7 separate regions of the Homo sapiens genome follow, and all the other regions are linked to region 7. Evidence: promoter capture Hi-C in 16 types of primary human blood cells and fetal thymus (Javierre and others, 2016). All regions are on one chromosome and are shown on one strand. Each heading gives the region's core, a stretch centred on a gene start or on the middle of the fragment in contact. The rest is flanking DNA. Distances are from core to core; before and after follow the strand shown.

Region 1 (3,100 bases), core at 295-2,794, 1.2 Mb before region 7:
GTCTAATATGTTATTAATTAAAGGCATCCAAGCTGGAATTTGATCCCAGGTCAGCTGAATTCATCTCTCACTAGCTCCCCCCAGCACAGGGCTAACTCCCACCCCACAACAATGCAGCCAAGCTTCTCTACTTCCCCAAACACAGGGCCCTCAAGGGCAAACACACCACAGTCAGGAATGTGTTTTCCTTCCTCTCCACAGCCTTTCCGAAGGCCTTATCACTTGATGATACACCACAACACCCTCCCTGTCGGCCACTCTGAGAGCTGGCTCTGCACAGCTGCCCCCTCCTGCCTCAGGAATTTCACAAAGGACTCGCTGTTCAGCTGGGGAGTGCTGGAGGCCACAGCAGGCAGCTCACTCCAGGCCACCAGCAACCACGCCCCCACCCCCAGCAGGAGGGAGGACTCCAAACCCAGGGAAACCTCCTCCAGAAGGAAGCCCCAAGGAAGAAAAGGGCCAGTGCTAGGTGCTCGGAAGGCCTAGGAGGGTCCCCTTGGCTCCTGGCCTGCTCAAAGTCTCCCATGCAGAAGCTGGTGCAAAGAGCTATCAGGTGGCTGCACAAACCACTCCGGTTCATCCCGAAGTGGAAAAACACCACATAATGAGAAGGCCTTGGCCGCTGCCAAAGACCTTTATAAAATGCAAATGGCTGGGCAGGACCCAGCAGCAGTCATCAGTTCTCAAAGGATCTCTCTGGCTCCCCGCTTTTGGTTCAAGGATCAAACAGATCTGGTTAAGCAAAACTCTCCTGACCCAGCCAGGCCTGGAGGTCCCGCTGGCCACAGTCCATCTAAGCACAAAGGTGAGGGCTGTGTAAGTCACAGGAAAACAAGAGATGCGTGGCCCTAAAGGCTTCCTGCTTTTGTCCACATGAAGAAGTTCATGAGAGCAGAGGCACTTGGAGATAAAGAATGGCTGGATAGTCTCTGAAAATCCCTGGACACACATAAACATTTTCCTGAGTTTCCTGTAACTTGCCGACGCTCATCCTCTCCCTGTGCCTGCTCCTCGGCCCTGCCTCTAGAAACTTAAGTACAAGGAGGGGCTGGTTCTTGGAAAGTGGCCTGAATACCATGGGGATGAATGCTGCTGACCACAGGCTTATCTCTCCCTGCGAAACACAACTCAGCTTGGGGTGGGGAGCTGCTCTATGAGGAGCTGGATTCCCCTTCTCTCTGTGCACAGGAATATCTACCTCACTTCAAGAGAATGAACTTGGCCTTCTGCCTCTAGAAAACCCAAAATGGGGTCTGAGCTCTCAACGCCACTGCTGAGCAGAACCTGCCTCTTTAGACAAAGGCTGAGTGGACTTCTGGGCCACAGCTAAGCAAAGATAGGGACATTCAGGGGCAGGGGCAGTGGATGCCAGGGGAGGGATGGAGCCATCCTGTGGTTCATTTCTACTTTGCTCTGTTCAACTTCCCTCAGGGATTCAGAGGTCCTTGCTGTCTTTTGGATTTTCTTTCTTTCTTAGCCCAGAATCAGCGACAGGAGTTTAGCCATCATGTTCCAGGCCTCTACCTCCACAAGAGTATGATCTATACATAGAGTCTCTGCCTCCCATCCCCAGTGGTCTGGAGCTCCCAACCCAGGGCTCCCCTCCTGGGTCTATAAACATTCACAGGAGGGTGCTGTGGATGCACTTCCGGAGCTCAGCCAGGCCACAGACACCCTTGAACTGCATGCCAGAAATAATTACCACTAATAATAATAAACCACGAAATGGGCTTAATTGGCCCTTCTGCACTTCTCTAAATACACTGCTGATGCTATCTGGGTGCCCGTTAGACCTTTGTGATTTTCTTCTCCAGGTAAAGTCTAAACTGAAGGATGTGACCAAGCCAGCCTCTGGCAGGCTCTCTATAAGGCCAAGAACTGCAGGGGATGGGAGCTGGTGCTTATTTACAACCAGTCTGGGGCCCGTGTGCATTCATGAAGAATAAATGGAAGGCTGCGGTTTAAATATGCTTGATAGCTCCCAGCTCTGGCAGTCATTTCCCATGGACGAGAAGCAGGAGAACAAATCCAAAGTGGGAACTGTGGGAAATCAGTATCTGTAGCTCCATATGCAGCCACCAAAGCACAGTGAAAACCAACTGGGATGGACAGACAGACAGACAGTTACACACGCTCTCACCATTCTCCTTTGCCTTTCCAAGAATTTATGCCAGACCCTAACAAACAGCCTGGGGACTGTGCTGTCAGGTTTTCGTAGCAAGAGTGGTTCTAGAAGAACATCATCTTAAAAATGAGTTTTCTGAATGGGTTCTGAGGTTTCTGAAATTCGTTCTCAGATCTGATTGGGTTGAAAGGCACTAATGATTCTACGTCCAGTAGTAAAAAGAGGAGAGTACAGGGCATGATGGGACAATAGAGACACAGAAAATATTATTAAATACTCCCAAAGGCTTCTAAGAGGCAAGGTTCTAGGTGGGTGTGTAGCAGATACCTTAAACATTTTTGTAAAATTAACAAGTATAACGAGAGTGGTTGGTTGCTCCTAATTGTACTAGACAAAGTGGGGGAAAAAAGAAGAATGAATTCAGGGATTCAAATTCCCAGCTCAAGCACCACATGAATGAATCAAAAGTTTCTATGTCTGCCCTTATGTCCCATAGATGCAGAGCTGAGATGGCTGAAAACCAGAAGTAGGATCTCATCCTGGCAGTGGCTGAATTACAATGCAAATTGAATTCCCAACCTTGCAGACCATCTGCCGTTAAAAGTGAGGGCATAGATTGGGAAGGAATTCTGCCTTTGGACTCCGATGCCAACATCAGCTCTTCCTTGGTTCTCCAGTCTGTGGCCTGATCTGCAGATTTCAGACTTGCCATCCCCACAATCGTGTGAGTTGATTCCTTAAATATAATTCTTTAAAATAAATCTTCCCCCTTTCTCTACTGTCCTCTCTCCTCTCTCATCCCCCTTTTCTGTTCAAGATTGCAACATCAAGCATAAGCTTAACTAAGGACTCATCCCCAAGCTGAGGTGGTCCTCACAGGCCCTGCGACCATGTGCTTCTCATAACGTTTGAGTCACTCCTATTGACCCACAGGACATAAGAGGTCTTATCTCAAATTGAGGTTCCCAGGGTTTA
Region 2 (3,102 bases), core at 142-2,641, 1.9 Mb before region 7:
AAGATGGAGAACGCAGCCCTTTCCTATCCCAAAGGCCTGCTGAGTGCAGCCACTTAACTAATTGGCAATGACCCTGCAGTCTCAGGGAGCTGGTCCTAGGTTTCTGGGCAAGGCTGTGCCCTGCTGGCTCCTCACAGTGCCCCCTCCCCAACCAGAGCCCTCTCAGCCCTCAGTTCCCGCAGGGCCAGCATTCTGCCTGCTCCAGGGCCCTCCAGTCCAGCATTTGCTAAATCACCTCCCTCCTCTCCAAGGCTTTCTCCCCATTACCTTGCGGAGGAAAGAACCAGAAAGGTTGTGATTATTGCCAGCTATAATTGAATGTAATACAAAACGCATTTGTTGAGACTTTACCACGTTTTCAGCTCCCCACCCCCGCACCCATTACCCACTGGGAGTCCCCCTGTTGCCAGCTCCTGCCAGCTCAGAGGCCAGCTGGCTTGGGGGGGTCTTGCGGGGCAGGAGGGGAGCAACAGGGATGCATTACCCTGGGCTTTCTTGCTAAAGGAACCTCTCCTCCCCTCAAAGCCTTTGATCCCTGCAGCTAGCCAGATTTTTCTTATCTCCTATTTGACTTCTGGGCTCCATTCTTCTCTTAGTTCTTCAAAAATTATACTCATTGTGCTCCTTACTTGCCAGGTCATGAATGCCTTTTGGCTGGAGTGTCTTCCTGTCTTCCCTCCTGTCTTCCTTCCTTCTTTCCTTCCTTCCCTCCCTCCCTCCTTTCTTCTTTCCTTCCTTCCCTCCTCTCTCTGCCTTCCTATGTTTCAGGAACCATAGCAGACCTGGAGCTATGAAGATAAACAGAAGAGGGAAGAAGGTCCCCATCTATTAGATCATAATCCAGTAAAAAGAAAAAAGATAAAACGGAACAAAACACACAAAAACAGCCACAGCCTGCTACGGTCTCTAATAGAACTCTAAGCATGGGACCAGATGATCACAGAAGAGAACCTGCCTACTGGGCCTCAGGATCTTAGGAAAAAGTGACCCAGAAAGATCAGGAAACCCCATGACATGCTGCCTGTAGGGCTGGTGAAGAGGGTGGGTGAGGGGTCATTGGGAAATGAGACCAGAAGGTGGCAATCTGCTAAGAAATTTTTGAACATCATCCATGGAAAAGCAGATTTTCATTTTAAAAATATAAATCTGGCACAAGGATACAGCACAGGTGTGAGCTGGAAGGCCACAGGGGCAGCGAGAATAAGTGCCTGGTGTGTGTGTGGCCACTGGCAATCTGAGAGAAGGATGCCTTGATTTGTAGCACTTGCCAATTTCTCTGGTGTAAATACTTTCATTGTGGCTGATTCCAAGCCACCAGCATGATGGCACTGAAAGGGGAGTTGGGGAGAAATGGACACCATTGGCTTGTGAGAGTTGGTTCCAGCACACCACTGTCTGAACAGCGACAGACTGGGCAAAAAGGGCAGATCTCAGGGTCCCTGGCCTCAAGCCACCTCTGACAGTTGATGTCCCACTTGTTGCCTGTAGTGGTGGCACCACCCAGTACTTCAAGACAACAATGTACAAGGTGCATGGGGGCATAGCATCTTACCATGTGCCCCTTCCTCCCAAGAGCTTCTTTTCTCTTACTCTCCAGTCCTCTGAAAGTTGTTATTTTCAAAACCACACTCTTTGTCATCTTTAACCCCAAACCAAGTTATCCTCCAACTTCTCCTCTTCAAATCATGATCTCAGCTTTTTCCTTCCCTCTCAACCTCCAACTCCTGCAAATCTCATGTCCCCCTCTGAGTGGGTCACAAAGTTGGTTGCTGAGCGGAGAAATTTGGTACCATGATGAATCAATGCTTCAATTTGTCTGAGTTCTTCCCCATTTTCTTGAGAGTTTAACAAGGAGGTCAGATGATAGCAGGTGAATTCCTAGTTGGTCAAATGGTTTCTTCTAAAGACTGCTAATCAAATGTCTGCATTAACCTGGATGGCAGACTGTTGTTTTAATTGTTCCTGTTCACGCCTTTTAATTGGGTATGAAGGAGCTTGTGGTTATTAAACAAGAAGCATCAAGTTGAGCACAGGATTGGGAGAGATTATGGCTTTAACAGAGGATCAAAAAAAGTTCTTGAAATCCTCACAGGCTGGTAAGTCATGCCAAGTTTAACAAAACGCAACTTGTGAAGTGGGATAAATGAGCCATTCTTCATGTAGATTTAAAAAAAAAAAAAAAGCCTTCCCCAGTCTAGGATGAGAAAGATGTGGTTTAGCAGTGGATGGATTAAAAAATAGGATTTAGGCTAACTGTAAATTCACTGTTAGTCACTATGATGTGGCTGCCAAAAAAAGTTAATGTAGTGTTGGGATTACCAGAAAACCCCTAAGAAACTATGGTGATTTCCCTCTGGGCTCTGCACACACGATCCCACCTCAGCAGTGAAAGCTGAGGGCCTGGGGTTTGAGAGGCCGTCTTCTAGGGCAAGGGCATTCAACAAGGCCCTATCACATGGTGCAGACCCCTAAAACCAAAGAGAGAGTGAGTCATGGGAACGCAGGATGGATTGCTGGTTTTGAACGGTTGTAGGACTGTCCCGTGAAAGATGGATCTGACTCCTTCATCCAAATCAACGTTAAGAAGAAATGTAACAGCTAGAGGAAGAGGAGCTTCACATTTGCATATCACATGCTGAATCTCCCTTCATAGCATTTGCACCCTTGCTACCTCACTGATATCTCCCAAGGCAGGCTGCTCTCCCATTTTGAGGATGAGGAAAAGCGACTGACTGAGCAGCTTGCCTGGGGTCCCCTTTCTTCAGTGGCAGAGATAAGACCAGAGCTCAGATTTTCCACTGTACCCCAACAAACACAGTCCACAGCCTACATCCCAGCAGTGAGTGACCCCCAACCTTCCCTCCACCCCTGATCTGAGCTTGGTCTCCACACATCAAGCTTATTTCTGTGCCAAAGAGTACAGCCCAGATGAACCTGCTTTTCTGATGTAGCCCCCAGAATTCTGCTCAAACACAAATTCCTCATACATGTATGGAAAGGAATGCAGACTTTTGACATGTTAATATGTATATAGTCATGGATATGTAGGACTTGATTAAGGTATATTTTATGATACATGTAATAAACAGAAAAAAAAGTAGG
Region 3 (3,476 bases), core at 762-3,261, 1.2 Mb before region 7:
TTTTAATAGATAAACCAAATAACCAAATAAGGGATAAGAAAGTGATAATACTGTCTGTGTGTGTACGTGTGTGTGTGTGTGTGTGTGTGTGTGTGTGTGTGTGTGTTTCAGTACAGAGAAAGAGAGAGGAGAGAAATGGAGACACAGAATGGTAAAGGAAGCAGAGTACCATATAAATAACCTGTGAATGTGGGAGGAAGAGGCACAAGGATGCTTTTTAGTATTCTTATAATCTTCCTGTAAGTTTACAAGTATATCAAAATTAAAAGTTGCCAGTGTTTGCACATCCATGTTCATAGCAGAATTATTCACAATAGCCAAAAGGTGGAAGCAAAAATCAAGCCTCCATTAACTGATAAATGAATAAACCAAATGTGGTCTATCCATACAATGGAATATTATTCAGCCTTTAAAAAGGAAAGACACCCTGACACATGCTACAACATGGAGAAACCTTAAGGACATCATGGTAAATGAAATAAGCCAGTTGCAAAAGGACAAATACTATATGATTCCACTTGTATGAGGTCCCTAGAAGTCAATTTCACAGACAGAAAGTACAACAGCAGTTGCCAGGGACTGGGGTGAAGGACAGTGGAGAGTTAGTGTTTAATGAGTGAGTGTAGCGTTTTAGTTTTGCAAGATAAAGAGACCTGTGGATGGAGGGTGGTGATGGTTGCAACAACATTATGAGTGTATTTTAAAACAATGAACTGCACACACACTTAAAAATGGTTAAGATGGTAACTTGAATGTTATATTTATTTTACCACAGTTAATTTTTTAAGCTGCCTCTACCAAACAAGTCTGTTGCGACTGTAACAAGAAAATGAATTAGAAGTTTCTGCCTATGAAGAACTGTGATAAATGTCTTTTCTTTGGCAGACAGACTGCCTTCCATGCTGATTTTTAAGCAAATGATTTTTTAAGTAAGAAAAGGTCCATTAGTTCAACAAGCAGATGTCGCAATTCTCATCCTGGCGTCTTGGAGTTCTTGCCTCCCTAGGCACCAGACCAAACATCCCTGCCCAACATTCATCACAATTTTAAACAATTGTCCTGACAACCTCGCAGCCTTGGAGTTTAATTCAAGCCACCTGGGGGGTGCTGGGAGCTGCCTGAGTTAAATGCCTCTGGACATCCTGGCCCTTCTCCCGTTGCCAGGCAACAGTTACCATGGTAACCCTCCTGCCTGGTTTGGAGCAGATTCAGTCTAAGTATCCACAGTTAAACCACTTGGAGTCTCCGCATGATCAAAAGTGAGAAAAGTCAAAGTTTACCTATTTTCTTTTATGTGGAAGCTTTGTGCTGGAAAGAATCTTAGAGGACATCTAGTCCAAGACCCTCATATATGAGAAATGTTTAAAAAACTGAGACCCATAAAATTTCAGCAAATTACCCAGGGTCACACAGTTAGTCTGTGGAAGATCAGAGAAATAAACCCAAGACTCTTGCTTTTCATTCCGGGGCATTTTCTATCATTCTAGTACCTAGAGATTTCCCTCTTGCCATGTCACTCACAGCACATGGTGTTTCTAAGCCTGGAAGTCCCCAGAACCCTAAAGCAATAGGTGTTTCCCTGAACACTAAGATCCAGTGAAGTTAATCTGGTCTCTAGCCAAGCCCAGCGAGACCCAGGAAGATGATGTGGCCTGGCTCTTCCCCGCAAACCCCCGAGGTTCTTGTTGACAAGAGTCCCAGAGGCACCTTGAGGTGGTAAAGATTCCTCCTGCCTCTCTGTGAATCTTCCCAATCCCTGGAAATTTGTTCTCCAAAATAATTCTAGGGAAAGGAAAAGCCCTCTCAGGTTGTCACTCAGTTTTGAAGTGTCTCATAGCCCTCAAATCTATCCTAGATCCATCCAGGTTTGTAGGAAGGGGCTGCCCAACACTCTCCTGAGACTGTCAAATCCTCACTGAGATATGTATTTGTTATCTTTTGAGGGTAAATCTCTCTCTCAGCAGCCTCAACTCCCCACCCTGGCTAGAGAGCACGGTGCTCACAAACCAATAAGCTGTGAGCAGCTGTCACCTAAGAACAGGTCCCAGCAGTAAGCCTCATCTTCTCTTATCATCAATGAAGGCTCATGTTACTGCACTGGGTAAGGCCACCTCCAAACAGCATAAGCTGCGGCCCAAAGCCCTCTCTCCTTCCCAGGGGCAGGCATGGGCATGAGGCACAAATGGGATCTGGAAGCATTATCACTTTCTTCCCAGGGCTGTGCCAGTTGATGGACTGAAGCGGAAACATCTGCAGAGGGCATTGACTCAGTGCAACCTACCGTGATCCTTCACAAGCGCTTCCATCTCCTCCTGGATGCCCTTATGCCACTCACTGATGTCCACATGCAGAGAGTAGTCACAGCAGGACTTGCTGTCGGCCCATTCCCTCCACTGGTCAAAGGCAGCGAGCAGGCTTGTCCCAGGCTCAGGAACAACGTGGTCAACTAGAAAGAAACAGACATATGTCATCATCACCAAGAGCCTCAAGGGCCGTGGGCCAGCAGGTATTTTCCCACTTGAACCCTGAATAAGGCTTCTTGGGTTCAAAATCGAGATGGTGATCTCTACAACCAGCTTCTAAGAATCCATGTAACCCAGCTGATTATCCAAGAGGGAGAAAGCAGAAAGCAGAAACTTGGCATTGGATGATGTCTCCAGCGAAACCACACATGCACTGCCCAGATCTGATTTCCCAAAACCCCTGAAAGCTCAAGCTTTGGGTGCATTTCACGGACAACGAGTCCTTATGGACAATGGCAGTGTCAAATGGCCGGGGAGCAGCCAAACCCTTCTTTGTGTTGAAAGCAGCTTATGAGACGCCCCCCGCCAGACGGCAGGGAACTTGAAGGTGCTGGAGCAGAGCCACACGGACCGGGCCTTTCAAAAGTTCCCGGGCATTACCTGCTCTCTCATTACCGCTCACATTTCTGCAGCATAATACCACTTTGTAATTTAAGGGAAATCTTTCATCTTAAGAGTTCAAAGTGTTTTAAAACTGCAGTCATTGTTATATTACTATGGAGGTACGCTGATCTGGAAGACTGAGGACTTTGGATGCAAGCTGACCCGAGTTGGTTTCCTGGCTCCATCATTCACCTGCATGGTGTCCTGGGGTAAACTCCTTAATCTCCACTGCCCTAATTTCTGTGCTGCTTTAAAACGGGGATATTACCTAGCACATACATTTGTTATGAGGATTAAAGGAGATAGCATATCCATCAATCTTATGTCATTCCCTGATTTAAATCCTCCAATGACTTCCCCCTGCTCTTCAGATAAAGATTCAAGTCCCCAGTAAGGTTTGCAAAACCCCAACCAGTGTGGCCCTGGCCTACCTCTATAACATGACCCTGGACCACCTCTCCCTTGTACCCTGCTCTCCAGCTACACAGACCGTTTTTCAGCTCCTAAAATATCTACCTGCTGCCTCCCACCACAGGGACTTTGCACCTGCTATTATCTCTCCTAGGTCTT
Region 4 (3,373 bases), core at 136-2,635, 1.2 Mb before region 7:
CTCTGGATCATTCCCAAATACTTCGAAGCTTAATAGCATATTCCTCAATAACTCATGGGTAAAAAGAAAATGAATACGGTAACTTCAGTGAAACTTATAGCACTAAATGCCTTCATTGGAAAAGAAAAAATACATCAGATTCCACTTCAGAAAACTAGAAAAAGGAGAGCAAATTAAATTCGTCCTAAATAGAAGAAAAGAAATTATGAAAATCAGAGTGAAGTATCAATTAAATGCAAAACAGTAAAACAATAGAGAAAATCAACTAAACTATTAGCTAGTTTTTTCAGATCAATGAAATTGATAAACTAACCATTGTGATAAGGAGAAAAAGGGAGATGATGCAAATTACTAACATTGGGAAAGAGAGGATGACATCACTGAAAATTCTATTAATATTAAGAAGATAATAAGGAAATATGATTAACAATTCTATGCCAATAAATTCAACAACTCAGACGAAATGGACAAATTCCATGGAAGACACAAACTACCAAAGCTTACTCAAGAAGAAACAGATAAACTAAATAGCCCTATGCCTATTAAAGAAATTGAATTTGTAGTTTAAAAACATTCCCACAGAGAGAACTCTAGGTCCAAATGGTTTCAATGGTCAATTCAACCAGTCAAGCAGTTAAGGAGGAAATAATACATTGAATACATTCTTGCATTAAATTAAAAAAGAAAGAACACATCCCAAATCATTATAGGAAGCCAATATTATGCTGATACTTTACTTTTTAAATATGTTCTTACATTTAACATACATTACTTTTCTTTTGTTTTAAATCGTTATTTTAAAAAGCTTGTTTGGTCTATGTTCCATTCACCTAAGGTGCTAAGTCTTAATTAGTACAGATAAATGAATCAGCATGAATAGTATATAGGCAGCTAATATATTACCTATTTCGGGTATCATAATACCTGTAATCCCAGCTACTCAGGAGGCTGAGGCAGGGGGATCCCTTGAGTCCTTGTGGTTTATAGTTCATCACAACACTGATCAGATGAAATAACACAAATGCAGTGACAGTGCTGAGCCTCATTCCCCATACATCCAGTGTGATACGAAAGCCAGGCTTGGGTACGAGAGCCAAATTCAGGGACAGGAGGGAAGGAGATAAAGAATGGTCACAAATTTGACCAGTCACTGGTAATTTACAGTGCCTCTGTTGACAGAGAGAGAGAGAAAGGGAGAGAAAGAAAGAGAGAGAGAGTAACTACAGGATTTTAACATGAAGCACCGAAACAGGCTGCAAGAGGGAATGAAAGCCTGACTCCTATTGCATCTGGTTAGCTAATTTGACAACGCTGCAAACTGTGAAGTCCTCATTAGGGAAAAAGTCAGGCTGGTGGGAGCAGGGGAAAGCAAAAAGAAGCAAACAAGCTACAAGTCTGCCTTTCTTCATGGTCCAGGACACACAGCCCTCCTGTGTAAATAACTCACAATCTTCCTGCGCCCGACTTATACCACCAGACACCTGCAAGCTCGCTCCCTGCAGCCTCGGCGTGATCGTAGTGTACATAGCCCACTCCAGCACAGTACCATCCTATGAAAGCCCCAGCAAGCCTTTGTCTCCTTGCAGTCAGCTCTGCCACACAAACGCTATCTGAACACAGGGCGCCTCTATCAGGAAAACCAATTTACTTAATAAGGGGATCTGAGATTTTGGCCCCTAATAATCAACTTTTTTAGTGTCTCTTGCTAAATCTACACACCATTATGTTTAATACGTAGCTTTCTAAACTCAGAGTCACCTGTTGGTCTCCTCATGGACCGAATGCAGGTCCACATCCAGATACAGCTGGCTGGGTGCTTGCTTAGGAACAGATACTGCATTCTGTCCTTTTCTTGCTTAGGAACGGAAGTTGCATTTTGTCTTCTTGAGAACTTGCTCTCGCACAGCTTGTACACTACTGCCACCTACTGGACAAACTAAGCTAAGCCGCCAGAGGTAAGCTTTCCACAGCTGTCATTCCAAATTACCTGACAAATACTTTGTCAACCAAGACTACCATTAATTAGGTCACCATATTATCCTAACTACTGTCATCTAGGAGGAAAGGGGCAAGAGCAGGCTTTATTTCCACTTATGAAAGTAGAATTAAATATTGAAAGGCAACCAGGCCAATGACTGTTTTTCTAAATAAGGACCTGAAGGACAGAATACTCATTTGGGAATGGCTGGAACCCTCATGGCAGGGTGGGGCGTGGAGGGGAAGATGGAGAACAAGGAATGAGGGAGAGAAAGAGCAATAATAATCCCAATGGAGTAGCCCTCCATGAACTTTATAACATTTCAATAAGATCAGATGTGCAAATAAGCCACTAAAAACTGATAGAACGCACTATCACTATCAGCTCATCAGGGAATGAACAGCAGGTCCACACACACCTTGGTCCTCAAACAGTTTACATAAAAAGCTGACGTTCAAGGACCAGATCAGTGCCCTTGGAGATGAACTAGGCCCAAGACACATATGGAACGGGCCTGTGGGTCATCGTGCTGCAGTTTCAGACTTCCCTGTTTTTGTCTTTATTCAATTTCACGAAGGCTTGAGAACTCTTTGGGAAGTCTTTTTCATCCCCACAGTTAGCTGCATCCTCCTAATTATGTATCTATGGTTTATAGCTTATCACAACACTTATCAGAATTTTTTTGAGACAGTCTCAAATTTATGAATTTATCAATGAAACACTGAGGACAATTGAGTCAGGAGCTGAGGCCATGAGCCAGGGAGCCCTCAAATGCAGCTAGAATCCATGGAGCCTGGCGTAGATAAGTGCAACACTTTGGGAATCTATTCCCCATTTTTCATAAGATGAAAGTGTTAAGATCATCATCTAGTGGGGGGACACTTGGACCTTGTACATAATTTTGTAATTAATCTGAAGATGAAACCGCCTTTGCAAAAATCGTATCAGTGATAAAACTGTGCCAATGAGGGAAATCTGATCTAGCCAGCCCCCCTCTTGCCTTTGGCCTTCAAGCTGCCAAGCTAACTTTGGGAGACATTTAGTTTATAGTTTAAATGATAATAGCCCTTCCCTAGAACTCAGCCACCTATGTAAAGCTAATGAGAGACCACAGGGCTAGGAGGAAGAGAGGAGCCTGAATTCTGCTAAGGTGTAGACATAAAGGATTGCCAGTCACTATTCCAGAGGTCATAAGATATGTAACTTCCCCAATTACTCCTGCAAATAACATCACTATTGTAGAAAGGCCTTTTAAGATGTCTTTTCAGGTATTTTGTATGTCTGACACCCTGACTCAACCTGGACCTGCCAACTGCTCCTGTGGCCCCACCCAGAAGTAACTCAGCTCAAGAAGACAGCTTTGACTGCCTGATTTTATCTCCAACCCAACCAATC
Region 5 (3,400 bases), core at 372-2,871, 1.9 Mb before region 7:
CGCCAGAGCCTGCCTGCTATGTTACCACCCTGCCAGTCTTTCCATTGTCCCAACTTCTTCCCTTTCCGGGGTCTGAGCCTTTAAAGGTCATCTCTCAAGCTTTCGCCCATGTCTCTGTGCCCATGTCAGGCCACAGCTTCCTTTCTTACCTTCTTGCCCAGTATTCTTCCTCTTTCTCTCTCTTACCCCAAACTCCAGAGTACCATTTGCCAGCTGACACATTTTCTTAAGAAAGGACCAATGGTAAAGGATGGGGAGGGGGCTGTGTCTCTGTGCAGTAGGTGGTGAGTGTGGCCTCTGAGATGGATCAGACTGTCTCACCCCAGAGAAGGTAGAAGGAGAGACCTCCAGGGCCACCACACAAAACATCAGCAACCCAGAAGCCTTTGTGCTGATGGAAAGAGCAATGAAGAGCTGGGGGGCCCACCCAAGAAAATCCTTGTTATCATGTCACAAGCCTAAAGGTCCCACTCTGGTGACTTACAACTCTGGACCAAGGCCTGCAATCACATCACTTGATGTCTGAGTCTCTCAACTGCCTCCAGGACCCTGCGCAGCCTTAGTTTCTTCCCATTTTTAAAGGAAGATGATAAAGATATTCCAGGCGACAGAAAATACAGTGTCTTGTTTCTAATCTGTAACTGTAAACTTGTTTTTTAAACAATTTTATATATGGTTCCATAAAATGTAAATTAAAGACCAAGGCTGATTTACTAAGTGGGGATTAGAAAATCCTAAATAAAGAGGGAAAGATTGGTGTGGTTGCTTGATTGGTTTACTTGCTTGCATTTCTTCTTTTGTTCATTCATTCATGAGTCCATTGTCCATTCATCCATCTACTTATTTTTAAATATCACATTTGCTTGAATAGGAGGTAAAGCTCTCTACCTTCCCAAATTATCTGTCAGAAAGGAGAAAGTTTATATCCAAGCCCTTACAGAATCTTTCATGTTATGGGTTGCTTTCTCAATTATCTTATTTTGAACAACAATATACTGTTTGGGAAAAGTATTAGCACTCCAATCAATCAAGGCTAGTTTGGGATGCTTACAAAGGTTACTTAAAAGAATTGGTTTTTATGAAAAGCAACCACCATACTATAATATAGATTCAGCAATTTTTCTTTTTAAAATTTTTTCTTTCTTTCTTTCCATAGGTTTTTGGGGAACAGGTGGTGTTTGGTTACATAAATAAGTTCTTTAGTGGTCATTTCTGAGATTTTGATGGACTCACACCACTGGAGCAGTATATATTGCATCCAATTTGTCTTTTATCCCTCACCCCCCTCCCACCCTTTCCCTCGATTCCCCCAAAGTCCATTGTATAATTCTTATGCCTTTGCATCTTCATAGCTTAGCTCCCTCAGCAATTTTTTTGAGGGCATAACCTTAAAATTTCAAGTGCTAAATGTTGTAAACAAACCTTTAAAAGATCATTGTCTAAAAAGCAGTGTACTGAGTGGTTATATTGTTGACATAAAAAATAAATACTTTGTAAAGGATTTGAACAGACATTTTTTTTCCCAAGAAGACATACAAATGGCCAACAAGAACATGAAAAGATGTTCACCATCATTAATTATCAGGGAAACGCAACTGAAAACCACAGTAAGATACTACTTCATCCCCACTGGGATGGCTAACAACGAAATTACAGACAACAACAAGTGTTGGCGAGAACGTGGAGGTATTAGAACCAAGAAGTACTGCTGATGGGAATAAAAAATGAGGCAGCTGCTGTGAAAAACCATTCAACAGTTCCTCAAAATGTTAAACAGAGTTATCACAGGACCCGGCAACTCCACTCTTAAGTCTATAGCTCAGAGAAATGAAAACATATGTCCACAAAAAAACTTGTATGTGAATGTTTATAGCAGCAGTACTTACAATGGTCAAAAAGTGGAAACAATCCAAATGTTTACTAATGAAGAGATAAACAAAATATGGCATATCCACACAACAAAATGTTACTCATCAATAAATATCAATCAAAACGAAACGAAGTACTAATAGATGTTACAACATGGAGGAAGTTTCAAAACATTGTGCTAAGTGAAAGCAGCCGTCGCGAAAGGCCACAGTGTTGTACAATTCCACTTATATGGAATGACCAGAAAAGGCAGATCCATAAAAATAGAAAGTAGATTAGTCTTGCCAGGGGACGGGGGAGTGGAGAACACGGTGTGACTGCTTATGGTACGGGGGTTTCTTTTTGGAGTGACGAGAATATTCTGCAATTAGATAGCAGTGATGGAGGGCCAGGCGCAGTAGCTCACGCCTGTAATCTCAGTACTTTAGGAGGCCAACGCGGGTGGATCACTTGAGCTAGGAGTTCAAGACTAGCCTGGCCGACATGGTGAAACCCCATCTCTACTAAAAAATACAAAAACTAGCCAGGCATGATGGCAGGTGCCTGTAATTCCAGCTACTTGGGAGGCTGAGGCAGGAGAATCACTTGAACCCAGGAGGGAGAGGTTGCAGTGAGCTGATACCATGCCATTCACTCCAGCCTGGGCAACAGAACAAGACTCTTGTCAAAAAAAGAAAAAAAGCGGTGATGGTTGCACAACTCTGTGAACGTACTAAAACTCATTGAATTGCACATTTTTAAAAGGTGAATTTTACGGTATGTGAATTGTATCTCAAAAAACTACTATTCATCAATAAGTATTAATTAGCGGTTATTAAAAAACTGGCAGTGGCGGGGGGAGGGGGGACGGGTGGTGGGGACGTGGGGCTGAGGCAGGAGAATCGCTTGAATCCAGAAGGCAGAGGGTGCAGTGAGCCGAGATTGTGCCACTGCACTCCAGCCTGGGTGACAGAGAGAGACTCCGTCTCAAAAATAAAAAATAAATAAGTAAATAAACTCCTTTTGGATCAATTTGAAACAGCTAACTCTCTTTAGACCACAGGGACTATGATGCCCACAGAACATGAAGAGCTGATGCAGAAAGGGTTCTGGTGACAAGAAGGACACTGATGTCAGAGATGGGAGTGAACAGTTACAATGTTTCCTAAACTGGGAGAGTTGGGGGAAAGCAGTATTTAAGTTAATGTATTGTTATTAGCATGTGATTGAAAATGTATCGCTAAAATAATCTATTCAACATTATCCTACAAAGTTTACATATGAAAATAAGCTTTTTAATTTTTTTTTAGCAGCCCTCCTTATTGGGAGAACAGAGCTGCCTTATATCAGGCACACATTGTACGTACTCAATGCCAGCTGTGTGTCAGGTACCAGGCTGTGTCCTTGGGATGTAACAGTGACTCTCCATACAGATACGGTTCTTTCCTCAACAGGGCTTATGGCCTAGTTTGTCTGAATTAAAAAGGAGCTCAAGTTTGAGGTCATTTTTATGAAAGGTTTGTAGAACGGATGATAATATCTTATGAGAGAT
Region 6 (3,051 bases), core at 311-2,810, 1.9 Mb after region 7:
ACATTCCTTTTTCTCGTTCCTTCATCTGTGAAATGATTATCTGGATTGGACTCACTGGTATGCAGACCCCTCCAGCTCTGTCCTTCTAATCTTTCTTCACAATCACCAACTCCTTCTTTTTTTCTTTTTTATTAACACGGAGTCTCACTCTGTTACCCAGCACAGTGGGGTGATCTCAGCTCACTGTAATCTCCGCCTCCCAGGTTCCAGCAATTATCCTGCCTCAGCCTCTCGAGTAGCTGGGATTACAGGCACCCGCCACCACTCCCGGCTAATTTTGGGGTTTTTTTCGTGTTTTTTTTTTTGCGGGGGGACGGGTTTGACACAAAGTCTCACTCTGTCACCCAGGCTGGAGTGCAGCGGCATGATCTCGGCTCACTGCAACCTCTGCCTCCCGGGTTCAAGCGATTCTCATGCCTCAGCCTCCCGAGGAGCTAGGATTACAGGCGCCCGCCACCACGCCCGGCTAAATTTTGTATTTTGGTAGAGATGGGGTTTCACCATGTTGGCCAGGCTGGTCTCAAACTCCTGATCTCAGGTGATCCACCTGCCTCGGCCTCCCCAAGTGCTGAGATTACAGGCGTGAGCCACCGCACCTGGCCTAGTTTTTGTATTTTTAGTAGAGATGGGGGTTTCACCATATTGGCCAGGCGGGTCTCAAACTCCTGACCTCGAGTGGTCCGCCTGGGATTACAGGCGTGAACCACTGCGCCTGGCCACCAACTCTTTCTAATGCCATTTTTTCCCCTTGCATTTACCTCCTTTTTACCAACCTGCAGCCAAGCATAGAGTCATCTCTCTCTTTTTTTGACTCTTAGATCCTATTAGCCACATCTGGATCCAGCCTCTGAGATAGCATCATCTATAGCTATAGTGACTCTGTAATTTATCATCCAAACTGGGACACTTTTTGAGAATGGAAAGGGTCACTGTTAACAATTCCACCAGGACAGAGGGTATAAGCTGAGACTATCCTGGGAAAACCAGGACATAGAGTCACCTAATTATAGCCAGACCTTGCTTGTCACCCCCAAAACCATGTCCCTCAACCTATGGCCCTTGTCTCTTCTTATATCCTCTTGGAAGGGAAGACTCTCCACATCTCCACTGTTGAAATGATGCTCAACATTCATTTCTCAACTCAGACACCTCACCTTCCATGAAGTCTTCTCTGACCCCTAAAAAGTAGGAGGAACCCTGGAGCTCTTCCCTGCCTCTTCCACAGCTCTTACTTAGAACCTTGCACTTTATATTGCAGCTCTGGAAGCCATGTCTTAGCCCTCCCATTACACTCTAAGTTCCTTGAATACACACAATGAATAAACAGTACATATTATTAAATGAGTCAGAATTTCTTTGGAAAAGAGCTTCATCTTCCTATATAACAGCATGAAATATTGCAGACGTCCATGATTCCCAGGGAGTTAAAGAACATGTTGCACCTCAGAGCTGGAGATTCTGAGCACAGGTTGTGTAGAAGAGAGAAAAAGGTGACTTTTTTTTTCTTCCAAAGTATATGTCACAAACACTAAATTAGAGAGCTACCTTTCTTTTCTTTTCTTTTCTTTTTTTTTTTTTTTTTTTTTTTTTTTTTTTGAGATGGAGTCTTGCTCTGTCACTCAGGCTGGAGTGCAATGGTGTGATCTCGGCTTACTGCAAACTTCGCCTCCCAGGTTCAAGTGATTCTCCACCCCAGCCTCCCGAGTAGCTGGGATTACAGGCACGCATCACCATATCTGGCTAATTTTTGTATTTTTAGTACAGGTGGGGTTTCACCAAGTTGGCCAAGCTGGTCTCAAACTCCTGACCTCAGATGATCCACCTGCCTCAGCCTCCCAAAGTGCTGGGATTACAGGCGTGAGCCACCGCGCCCGGCCAGGGGACTACCTTTCTTAGGACAACATGGAGTTACTAAGCTGGGGACCTGGAAGAGAACTAGAGTATGATATAGTCTATAAGTCCTTTCTTACAGGTGGACAAAAGAGATCCAAGGTAAAGTAACGTGTCCAAGGACACAAAAGTGGTTGGTGGCAGAGCTGGGATAAAACCCCAGGTGTGTCATTCAATACCCGTTCACTTACTCACCTTTGAAATAAACTCAGAGCCTGATAAAACTCCTTTATTGCTATCATTTGTCATATCTCAGATGCCTGCTCTGTAAAAATCAATAGTCATCAATTCTCCACTCTGGTCAGGTTCACCTGACACAGCACATTAGCACATGGCCACATTTGCACAGTTTTGTACTGAGCTCTATGCACAGTGAATAAGAGAGTTCACTGACCACGATCCTTCAGGTAGCAAAGTCTCTGTATTTCCCTGCCTCAAATAGACTACTGAGCAGAGAAGATGCCCCTCTGTAGGAGGATGGAGATGATGTCGCATAAAAATAACAAGCATGTGCTTTGGAGACAGATCAGGACTGAGTAAAACCCACTGCTTCCAAGAGTTGCCCTTGGGAGAAGCAGCTCGTTTGCAGTTAGAAGCACCAACCACTGTGGTTTTCCATTTGCGTTCCACGTGTTTTCTCTGTCCACAGCATCTAATTATGCCTTGCTGGTCTCTCCTGACTTTAGTCATATGTGTTTCTCAAGTCTGGACCTCTGTTTCAGCTGCTGTTGGGGGGCAATTGCAGAGTGATTGTGAATTTGCAGGAGAAAGATGTGCAAAGGGTGCCAGGTTGCCACCTACCAAAGCGGGGGGGGGCAAAGTTAGCACCGAGAGTCTCTCAGGTGGGAGAGAAGGGTTAACCAAGGATCTCCACTTGGTGGCCTGTGGAGACAGGCCTTCAGAAACATTGGGTAGCAGAGAGGAACCCTGGGAGTGGCCTCAGAGAGCAGCCAGATCTTCCCTCTCCTCTCAGGCTCCCAGGCTGAACACTTCAGCTACTGTGTTGGTAGATGGAGCCCCAGTATCTGAGACTCCCAATGTGGCTGTGCGAGAATGGGCTGGATGGCACCTTTTCCCTACATCAAAGCTCCAGGCTATGGGGAAATTCAGCCACATACACACTGTGAAGTTCTTAATTCTGCTTTATTAATTTCCAGAGTC
Region 7 (3,315 bases), core at 393-2,892:
GTATAATTTATGGGGTACATGAAATATTTTGATACAGGCATGCAATTCGTAATAATCAAATCAAAGTAAATGAGGTAGCCATTATCTCAAATATTTATCCTTTTTGTTATAAACAATCCAATTATACTTCGTTATGTTTAAATGCACAATTAAATTATGGACCGCCACCCTGTTGTGCTAGCAAATACTAGATCTTATTCATTCTTTGTTTTTCTACCTATTAACCATCTCCACTTCCTTCCCATCCATCCCCAATACACTTCCCACCCTGTGCTAACCATTCTTTTACTCTAAGCGCGTACTTTTAAAGCCAAATTAAACAGAAAGAAATGGAGAAAACTGCTGTTCAGGCACCAAAGCAGACCCCAAAGGATAAGCCATGGCTTTTCAACCGTAGCGAAAACCTGAATCATAAGGGTACCCCTCTCAAGACGCAGCTCTATCCATTTCCAGAAATTCTCTCAACAGGTCCGGATGCACTCCTGGTCACCCAGAGCAGCTCCTGACAGGAGTACTAATTCTGTGCTGCAGGGTAAGCCGAACAAAGTGCCTAGAAATGCCCCGGAGAAACAGCCCCGTGGCAGCGCGGATGCAATCCTACCTCTCACGCCGCACCTGAAGGCCCGCCAGGCAGACAGGCTTACTCCCAGAGCCCCGTGGCAGGCGAGCGTCGCGTCGGCCGCTCCTTCCAGACCCCGGCTCCTCTGTCCGGAAGGGCTCTCCTGGCAAAGCACCCGCAGCCGGGAGCCGCTCTTCGAACCCGGAGCCCGAGGTCCCGACGGCTGACCTGGACTCACAGCCTGCGCTGATCCTGGCCTGCGCTCTGCCCGGCAGCCTCCTCCACCCGCCTCCTCCGCCCGCCGACCGATTCAAATCCCCGACCCCGCCCCTCGGTACCGAATTTACTCTACGAATCACTCCGCCACCTCCCCCTTCTCCAGTCCGCGCACACTCCGAGCGCTCCCAGGCCTCTCCCTCGGCACTGGAGTGGCTTCCTGGGCTCGGAGAGGGACCACCGCGAGCTGCAGTCAACCCGAGGACTACAGACACCTGCCACTGCCTTGTGACCTCGGGGACTACTTTTCAGGAGAGTCTCGCGGAGTAACGCTTCTCTTAGCGCTTTAACTCCGCCTCCCACCTTTCTATTGGATGCTGCAAACTTCGAAAAGACTCATTCAACCAATCCTAACAGAGCGACGAGCTGGCTCTTACCCAATCAGTCCGTCCCTACCGCAGCCGTTTCCTAGCTGGGCCGGCTTGTGGGCGGGGCTAACGCTGGAGGAGGGGCTGACTGGTGCTTGGGTCCCTTTCAGCGCTCCACCTCCTTTCCCCAGACCCCGCCCTCGTATGCAGATAAGCGCTACCTAAACTAGAGGGTGCGCCTGCTCAGTAACGCTGGAAGCCGCCGTCCGGCTCCAGGAGCCTCTCTGATTGGCTGATGCCCCTTCCCGTCTACTAGCCTTCAGCGTCTCTTCCCTCCCTCCGTCCCGGCTAGGTTAGCCAGAGCCCGCCCGATACTGGGTGCTGATTGGCTGGACTCTGTCCGGTGACGCGGGTTGGTTGGTACGGCAGAGTGTCAGTCTCGGAGAGGTGGGGGAAGGGCCCCAGGCAGGCTGAGGAGCCTAGGGGCGGGGTGGGAAGGAGGACCGGCCGAACCTTGGGTGTGGGACAGAGTGCGTGCGTGTGGTGTGTCCCCAAGGGCAGGAAGGTGGCGAAGGGAGGCGAATCCGAGTGGGTGGAGGGAGGGGAAGGGCGGGAGGAGAAAAAGGTGGGAGGAGGACCAGGTGGGAGGGTGGCGGCTCACTCAGGACCCAGCGGGGGCAGCGCGATGAGGCGGGTGACCCTGTTCCTGAACGGCAGCCCCAAGAACGGAAAGGTAACGGGGGCGTGAGGGGGCGCGGCGGGCCGGGGGTCGGGGCGAGGGCGGACGGTGCGGAACCGGCTGGCGGGGCAGCGGTGAAGTTGGGTAGAGGGGCTGGGAGGTGGGCGTGCGCGGGCTGGGGGCGCTCGGGGACAGCACAGGGTCCCCGCGGCCTCCTCCCGACCCTCAGGACCCCCGTGCCCGAGCCTGCCCTTCAGTGCCTCAGCTGCCTGGGGGCCGGCGCGGTTCGGCCCGGGGGCTCCGGGTCTCCCGGATGCTTGGTGCGGGGGGCGCGGGGACGGGGGCGCGGGGAGGGCCGCGGTCACCTGGGCGCCCGGGCGGTCGCGCCTCTTCCCGCCTCTCCCCGAGACCCCGCTCCCGCCTGCGGGAGGAGGCGCGCCGGCTCCGGTGCTGAGTAATGATCTGCTCGGAAAGTGGCGGCGAGCACCAGAGCCTGTGGAGATGGGTCAGGGAGACAGAAGTAAACTGCCCGTGGATAAACAAAATCTCCCATCCGAGGTCGCAGACAGGATTTTTAAAATGGGGGCATTTTCTTGTTGATTTTTGCCCTCCTCTCTGAGATGCCTCAAGCCCCCACGCCCCGCCGCCGCCAAACTTCTCTGTACTCTTTTTATTATTTTGCCTTATTTTGATTCCCTAGAGGACGGGTACAGCAGACCCAAAAGGGATCGATTTGACAGTCGCCTTTGCTGTGTTAGGCCTTTGCGGAGAGTGTGGTGCTCAGTGTTCTTCCAGCGCTGGAGCAAGCCAAAACGAATTCTCTTCCTTCCCAGCCTTTTGCCCCACCCATGAAAGTTGTTCTGCTCCTTTGGGAAATTTTCACTGTTCGAGGCAGACATTTATTGCGTTGCTAAATGATACCTAGAAGTAACTCAGCCTTTACGAGTCTAAGGTAAAGGTAAATGGGTCTCGCTGTGTTGGTTGCCAAAATACTCTGCTGCCTGCACATTCGGGGAACACTGTAAATTTTTAAATAGTGAAATTGTCCAGTGGCATTAAAAATGGCTTTCCGATTATTCAGTGTAGAGTAAACATGCTCCGAAAATTCGAACCAGAGTGTGGTTTGTTGGCTATAATTTTATGTTCTTTTGGTCTTAGAGATTTAATACTCATTTAAAATCAGAATTCGTATAAATTCGAGTTCTTGAGTTATCATGAATGCTACCCCGAAAATATGTTCACGAAGTTTACATTTCTCATCACTATTAACTTTTTCTAAACCTGTTCTGTACTTAGCTACTACCTGTTATCTAAAACGTATGTTGTTACTCTAAGAAAGATTTAGTATGTTCAAAATTGGTAATATTTCTCAAAAACAAACTTCTGGTTGACCTTTTTAATGCAGTATCTCTGCTATGTTACTCATGGAAGACAAATATTTAAACCTAGTCATAAATATTTTTGCTCTAAATCTCTCCCAAATCCACTCAATT

What was found. The method cuts DNA at HindIII sites, captures the fragments that hold promoters and counts their contacts. A CHiCAGO score of 5 or more calls a contact.
Region 1: a contact is called between a fragment that was not itself captured here and the fragment with the promoter of KCTD9 in region 7, in 1 of 17 cell types (total B cells). The highest score is 7.7, in total B cells.
Region 2: a contact is called between a fragment that was not itself captured here and the fragment with the promoter of KCTD9 in region 7, in 1 of 17 cell types (neutrophils). The highest score is 6.0, in neutrophils.
Region 3: a fragment that was not itself captured here is called in contact with the fragment with the promoter of KCTD9 in region 7 in 1 of 17 cell types (total B cells); the score reaches 5.5 in total B cells.
Region 4: a contact is called between a fragment that was not itself captured here and the fragment with the promoter of KCTD9 in region 7, in 8 of 17 cell types (total B cells, total CD4 T cells, naive CD4 T cells and 5 more). The highest score is 20.4, in total B cells.
Region 5: a fragment that was not itself captured here is called in contact with the fragment with the promoter of KCTD9 in region 7 in 1 of 17 cell types (neutrophils); the score reaches 8.6 in neutrophils.
Region 6: a fragment that was not itself captured here is called in contact with the fragment with the promoter of KCTD9 in region 7 in 1 of 17 cell types (neutrophils); the score reaches 8.0 in neutrophils.

Annotation. Positions count from the first base shown.
Region 1 is chr8:26,639,057-26,642,156 of GRCh38, reverse strand. The region is part of intron 8 of DPYSL2 (dihydropyrimidinase like 2); the gene reads right to left. Among named protein-coding and RNA genes, the nearest start is that of DPYSL2, 130 kb to the right of the region's middle. The HindIII fragment of the contact is 2,840 bases long and covers 125-2,964 here.
Region 2 is chr8:27,386,898-27,389,999 of GRCh38, reverse strand. All of the region lies in intron 1 of PTK2B (protein tyrosine kinase 2 beta), which reads right to left. Among named protein-coding and RNA genes, the nearest start is that of MIR6842, 45 kb to the left of the region's middle. RefSeq lists an enhancer at 2,261-2,310. The HindIII fragment of the contact is 3,018 bases long and covers 1-2,900 here.
Region 3 is chr8:26,623,113-26,626,588 of GRCh38, reverse strand. It overlaps DPYSL2 (dihydropyrimidinase like 2), which reads right to left. Exons shown (of 14, transcript NM_001197293.3): 4 at 2,282-2,446. Among named protein-coding and RNA genes, the nearest start is that of DPYSL2, 110 kb to the right of the region's middle. The HindIII fragment of the contact is 1,415 bases long and covers 1,304-2,718 here.
Region 4 is chr8:26,669,260-26,672,632 of GRCh38, reverse strand. No RefSeq gene overlaps it. Among named protein-coding and RNA genes, the nearest start is that of DPYSL2, 160 kb to the right of the region's middle. The HindIII fragment of the contact is 1,155 bases long and covers 808-1,962 here.
Region 5 is chr8:27,336,291-27,339,690 of GRCh38, reverse strand. The region is part of intron 1 of PTK2B (protein tyrosine kinase 2 beta); the gene reads right to left. Among named protein-coding and RNA genes, the nearest start is that of PTK2B, 12 kb to the right of the region's middle. The HindIII fragment of the contact is 3,040 bases long and covers 102-3,141 here.
Region 6 is chr8:23,519,215-23,522,265 of GRCh38, reverse strand. No RefSeq gene overlaps it. Among named protein-coding and RNA genes, the nearest start is that of SLC25A37, 8.2 kb to the left of the region's middle. The HindIII fragment of the contact is 9,103 bases long and covers 1-3,051 here.
Region 7 is chr8:25,456,760-25,460,074 of GRCh38, reverse strand. KCTD9 (potassium channel tetramerization domain containing 9) reads left to right here and starts at 1,642. Exons shown (of 12, transcript NM_017634.4): 1 at 1,642-1,876. The coding sequence starts at 1,829. It overlaps CDCA2 (cell division cycle associated 2), which reads right to left and starts at 842. Exons shown (of 15, transcript NM_152562.4): 1 at 602-842. RefSeq lists enhancers at 944-1,173, 2,544-2,593 and silencers at 1,314-1,523, 1,884-1,933. The HindIII fragment of the contact is 4,823 bases long and covers 1-3,315 here.